Regions from separate parts of the Homo sapiens genome. Here region 1 is linked to region 2. Evidence: promoter capture Hi-C in human tissues and cell types (Jung and others, 2019). All regions are on one chromosome and are shown on one strand. Each heading gives the region's core, a stretch centred on a gene start or on the middle of the fragment in contact. The rest is flanking DNA. Distances are from core to core; before and after follow the strand shown.

Region 1 (2,780 bases), core at 193-2,692, 400 kb after region 2:
GTGGCAGCCAGCAGAGGGAGAAAGTGAAATTCTGCAGACGGATAAAAAGGAACTTTCAACACCCAGCTTATTTTTTTGGCAGAGATTCAATGCACTGGGAATTGTCCAGCAAAATGGGTTGCACTTGGCAGATCTGCAAATATGCATATTTCTGCTCAGTACCATCAGGCAAACATAGAGACTTCCAGAGGAACTAATTATCTTTTGTCTTTTTTACCTTAGAAAGAGGATAATATTTGGAAGACAACTATTAAGAGATTTTAGAGGCAATGTTTAAAAAAATGTTGAAAGAGAATTCTATATTTAGCCTTCTTTTAAAAAGTTTTTAATACCCATTTGTGCTCCCAAAATAATTTATCATAATTGGCAGAAGCTCAAACCATTTGGTTTATAATTTGAAGACTTTTGTTTATTATTTGCCTTTTTTTTTTTTTTTTTTTTAGATGGAGTCTCGCTCTGTCGACAGGCTGGAGTGCAGTGGCACGATCTCAGCTCACTGCAACGTCCGACTCCCGGGTTCAAGCAATTCTCCTGCCTCAGCCTCCCGAGTAGCTGGGATTCCAGGCATGAGCCACCATGCCCAGCTAATTTTTGTATTTTTAGTAGAGACTTTAGTAGAGACGGGGTTTCACCATGTTGGCCAAGATGGTGCTTTTTTTTTTTTTTTTTTTTTAGAGATGGTATATCTCGGCTGGGCGCAGTGGCTCATGCCTGTAATCTCAACACTTTGGGAGGCCGAGGCGGGCGGATCACGAGGTCAGGAGATATAGTTAACTAATCTAGTTAGCCATCCTGGCTAACACGGTGAAACCCCGTCTCTACTAAAAATACAAAAAATTAGCCGGGCGTGGTGGTTGGCACCTGTACTTCCTCATACTCCGGAGGCTGAGGCAGGAGAATGGCGTGAACCTGGGAGGCGGAGCGTGCAGTGAGCGGAGATCGAACCACTGCACTCCAGCCTGGGCAACAGAGCGATATATCTCACTATGTTGCCCAAGCTGGACTTGAACTCTTGGGCTCAAGAGATCCTCCCACTTCAGCCTGTTGAATAGCTGGGACTATGGGTGCGTGCCCACACCTGGCTGCCATTATCAATATATTTTTAAACAAACTCTGTTGCTATGTTTTTCCTTATTATGTTGTCATTGACACTAGAGAGAAGCTAAAGTTGCTCTATATATTTTGTCAGGTCATTGAGATAAAAAAAGAAAAAAGCTATCTACATCAGATATTTAGAGAATATTTGAGTTAGCTAGAAAAATAGTTTAAGTTTTTAAAGTGAGTTAGCTAAAAATACATCTGTTTAATTGATTATTGTGTTAATAATTATGTCTTCTTTGTTGTTAAGAAACTGATGTGGGCCAGGCGTGGTGGCTCACGCCTGTAATCCCAGCACTTTGGGAGGCTGAGGCAGGTGGATCACGAGGTCAGGAGATCGAGACCATCCTGGCTAACACAGTGAAACCCCGTCTCTACTAAAAATACAAAAAATTAGCCGAACGTGGTGGCGGGCGCCTGTAGTCCCAGCTACTCGGGAGGCTGAGGCAGGAGAATGGTGTGGACCCCGGAGGTGGAGTTTGCAGTGAGCCAAGATCGTGCCACTGCACTCCAGCCTGGGTGACAGAGCGAGACTCCGTTTCAAAAAAAAAAAAAAAGAAACTGATGTGGCACTTTAGGGACGGCAAGTGCAGTTCAAAACAAATTTTCCACTTTCTGATGAATATTTTTTAAGTGACAACAATTGGAAAAAGAGAAGGAACCGGTTATGTGAGCCAGTTGTTTCCAAACATACTTATTTTCTATGAAAAGATGACCAAACCCTGATACCCTGATAAAACATATTACTTTAGAAGCCATTTATTCCTACTTAAAAGTTCCCAAGCAAAATTTCACTCGTGTAATATTGAATTTAAGAAAATTAATCTAGTTGCCATTTTTTGAGTGGGGTAAGGGGTGGTGTATATTATGATTTTCCTATCCCTCCCATTTTCTTATCTTTTAAGTGGGGAATCCCAAAGTAAAAATATATATTCCTAGAAAAGTAACCTGGAAAATATCACACAATTATGAGAGCTTAATAGAGGATAGCCCACACTATGGTTTCTAGAAGACCAAATTTGTGAGCAGCCTAATTTATTTTGATATTATTAGGAAGAAGTCAGCCATGTGACCAGAGTGAAGTAGAGATATGTATATGTAAATTAAATAATTTTTAGGTTCTAGTCCCAGTTACTTGGGAGGCTGAGGTGGGAGGATAGCTAGAGCCCAGGAGTTCAAGTCCAGCCTGGGCAACATAGTGAGACCATGTCTTTAAAATAAATAAATAAATAAATATTAAAAAATAATTTTCAGATTCTAGAAATGACTACATCTAGGAAGACATGATGTAATGAATGTTGATGGGGGTGGTGTGGGGTAGGGGAAGCACTAGACTGAAAATCTGCTGAAGTCTCTAAGGTTTTTTCCAAATTTATAATTTTATGTTATAATATGTAGATGATTGGAACAAAGTGCACTACATAGGCTCGGGATGCCTATGTAACCGTAAAAAAACTCATATTAGCTCCAGTGGTAGAGTACAGAGTTCTTCATATCTATTGTTGCTAGGATCAATCCCATTCTAACCATCCAAATTATTTGATAATAGCATAGTGCTATATTAAATATTACTTGAATATTAAAATTTATGTAAATGGCCAGTAATGGATACTTAATTACCTTTCTGTAATGTAGAGTTTTATGGTAAAATGAAGCTTATTGTAAAGGATTTTGACTAGTAT
Region 2 (2,824 bases), core at 161-2,660:
AGCTGTAGGGGGAGGTGGAATTGGAGGACACGGAGGAGGACGGCGCGGGGCTGTTGGTGCAACTCCACGTGGAGGCGGGCGAGGGGCTGTCTCCGCTGCTGCTCAGGGCGGCGCTGGCTCCTCCCGGGCTCAGCAACACTGCCTCGGAGAAGAGCGCCCCCGGCAGGCCCCCGCCGCCGCCCCCGCAGTGATCCGCCAGGCGCAGGGTCTCGGTGAGTGCCCAGATGTAGTTGTGGGCGAAGCGCAGGGTCTCGATCTTGGTGAGCTTGGCGTCCTCGGGGAACGTGGGGAGCACCTCGCGCAGCGCGTCCAGTGCCGCGTTGAGGTTGTGCATGCGGTTTCGCTCGCGGTTGTTGGCCTTCAGTCTACGGGTCTTCTTGATGCGCTGCACCGTCTCGGCCGTCTTGGCGCCTCGGGAGACGGCCCGCGCCCGGGAAGGGCGCCGTTTGCAATCGTGTACCAGACCCAGCAGCCGTGCGGGCCGGCAGCCCTCCGCACCCGCAGCCACGCCGCCCCGCGCCCCCTGCCCGGCCTCAGCCCCGCGCTGCCGACGCGCCCCGCCTGACGCGCCCGGCTCCTCCTCCTCTTCTTCGTCGGCGCTGGATGACAGCGGGGTCAGGGCCGCCAAGGCGGGGGAGGCCGATCCGAGCAGCACTAACACGTCCTCTTCCTCCTTCAACTCCAAGGTCTCGGATTTGACGAACATCCTACCGAAGAGAGAAAGGGGAAAAAGGCAGTGAGGTGTAAGGAAAGAAACAGAGGCGCGATCTTCGTGTCACAGGGGCGTGCTCCGGCGCGCACCCGAGAAGACCAGCTCCGAATGGCGCGGAGCAGGAAGGCGAAGGAAGAAACCCAGGCAGTGCTAACCAAGGTCAGGAGCGCCGCTAGCGCTCGCTGTGACCCTGCTGCCAGTCAGCCGGGTCCTGCCCTCCGCGGGCGGTCCTGCGTTCCCTCCCCGAGAAGGGACTGCGGCCTCCGCGACAAAGATTCTGCGCGGAGCAGAGGGCGTGCGGGTGTGGTTGGACTGAGTGCGGGGAAACCACCTGCGTAGTTGGAAGCGGTGGCTCGAATACTTACTTAGTTGGCTCTAACTGTGCCTCAGCGTTGCTGTGACTTTGGCCTGTGCCGGGAATCTCCGCGCAGCTGCGAGCGCAGCGCCGGGTCCTTCGCCCGGCGTGAAAGCTGCAAGCCCGGCGCTACTGTGGCGCAGCTCCGCGGGGGACCTCTGCGACCGGCGAGTTTGCCAAGAGCCCCGGCGGCGGCGGCGGCGGCCCGCCCGGGTCTCGTGTGTTGTGGTGGTGGTGCGTGTCTGTCTGTCAGTCAGTCCCTGGCCGTGCGGCTCCTGGCACGCGACTCCCAGGCACTCCAGTTAACGCGAAGCTGCTTGTGGTTCAGTGGCTGCGTGTCTGGCACACGACTCTCCTTAAAACCCCTTATATACCACCAAGAAAACAATCAGATCTGCCCCGGGCCCCCTCCTCCCCCGCCACCGCCTCCTCCTCCTGTCAGTCCTGCCCCCCTTCTCCCCCGCTTTTCCCTCCTCTGGCTTATTCTTTTCATTGCATTATCATCATTCATTTCTTCCTCTTTCTTCACCGCCTTTCCCCCTCCCTTGGCCCTGCCATCCATCCTCCTCCTCCCACCACCCCCGCCTCTCTTTTCCCCCTTTATCTAATCAACATAAAATGGTTCTAAAGCTCCTGTTGGAGCTCCGGGCTGCGGCCGGAGCTGGCGAAGCCGCAGCGGCCGCAGAGGCTCAAGCTGCGGCTGTTGTCGCCGCCGCTGTCCATTGTGATTGGTGGCTCGCGCTCGGCTGGAGCGTGCCGCTAATTTATTAATGAATGGAGGTCGCGAGGCGCAGCTGGCCAATCAGGGCGCCCTGGACTCCGGGAGGCCTGCGAGCCACGCGCACCGGAGCCCGCTCCCTTTCAGCAGCTCATTAGGGGCCCGAGCGCTGGGGGCGGATGGGGGGACCCGTGCTACCGCCCCCGCCTTCGTCCTCGCTGCCGCCGAGGCTCCCCCCGCCCGGCGCGCGCGCAGGCACCGCACCCGGCGCTGCCGGCCCTCCTAACTCCCGGGTGATGGGAACTAGGAATTAGTTAATGGGGGTCAGAATCCCGGGGAAAGCAGTTAGCCCTGTGGTGCTGCCGGGCGTCTCTTGGCAAAGCCTCTTAGGGGTTGTATCAAATAGTAAACGATTTTAAAATGGATTCATTTGGTTAGGGGAGGAGAATGGCGTGGATGGAGAGATGTGGACACCTCGTGAACAAGTGTGTTTGGGGTCCGTCGAAACTGGCGTGGGAGAGTGAAGGGAGAGGACACTGGGGATTCAAACAGGCGTCTCTTGGGAGGGGAGGTCGGATAGGGGAGCAGTTGATGAGCTTTTAGAGGATGTGAGAATGAAATCACTCACATGTTAGAGCTGAAAGGATCCCCCTCATTTTACATACAGGAAACTGAGGCTCCGGGCACTGATGCAGGTTTTGCTGGGGTTAACCCAGTTTATAGCCTGGAGGGACAGCAAGGAGGCTTCCTGCGTGGGTGGCAGCGAACCGAGCGGGAGGAGCGGCAGAGCTGCTGCTCCTGCAAGCAAATGCGCTGCGCTGACATTTCTGTGACCTCTGCTCCGCGCTGGGGGGCGTTGTAGGGACAAGGGGCCCATCTTCCCAATTCTGCTTTTCAATGAGAAAAAAGAGCTGAAGGGCTACTGGACCTCGGGGGAAACTTGTTCTCAATTGCTCGTTAGCCCTCCCCACTTTCCCCACGTTCATGCCCACCCTCTTGTCGACATGGGGATGGATCCGGACTTCAGTAGACCGGAGTG

Evidence for each region. Contacts are between HindIII fragments. The study calls those that stand out against the background at their distance.
Region 1: a contact is called between a fragment that was not itself captured here and the fragment with the promoter of NEUROG2 in region 2, in 1 of the 25 tissues and cell types used here (thymus).

What each region holds. Positions count from the first base shown.
Region 1 is chr4:112,910,537-112,913,316 of GRCh38, forward strand. It overlaps a transcript of ANK2 not described here. Among named protein-coding and RNA genes, the nearest start is that of ANK2-AS1, 130 kb to the right of the region's middle. The HindIII fragment of the contact is 4,274 bases long and covers 1-2,780 here.
Region 2 is chr4:112,514,770-112,517,593 of GRCh38, forward strand. It overlaps NEUROG2 (neurogenin 2), which reads right to left and starts at 1,411. Exons shown (of 2, transcript NM_024019.4): 1 at 1,078-1,411; 2 at 1-707. The coding sequence starts at 706. It overlaps NEUROG2-AS1 (NEUROG2 and ZGRF1 antisense RNA 1), which reads left to right and starts at 610. Exons shown (of 4, transcript NR_161159.1): 1 at 610-871. It overlaps LOC124900760 (a long non-coding RNA gene), which reads left to right and starts at 2,036. Exons shown (of 2, transcript XR_007058231.1): 1 at 2,036-2,270. RefSeq lists silencers at 43-242, 503-572, 1,893-2,172 and enhancers at 2,182-2,824, 2,313-2,412, 2,513-2,632. The HindIII fragment of the contact is 15,153 bases long and covers 1-2,824 here.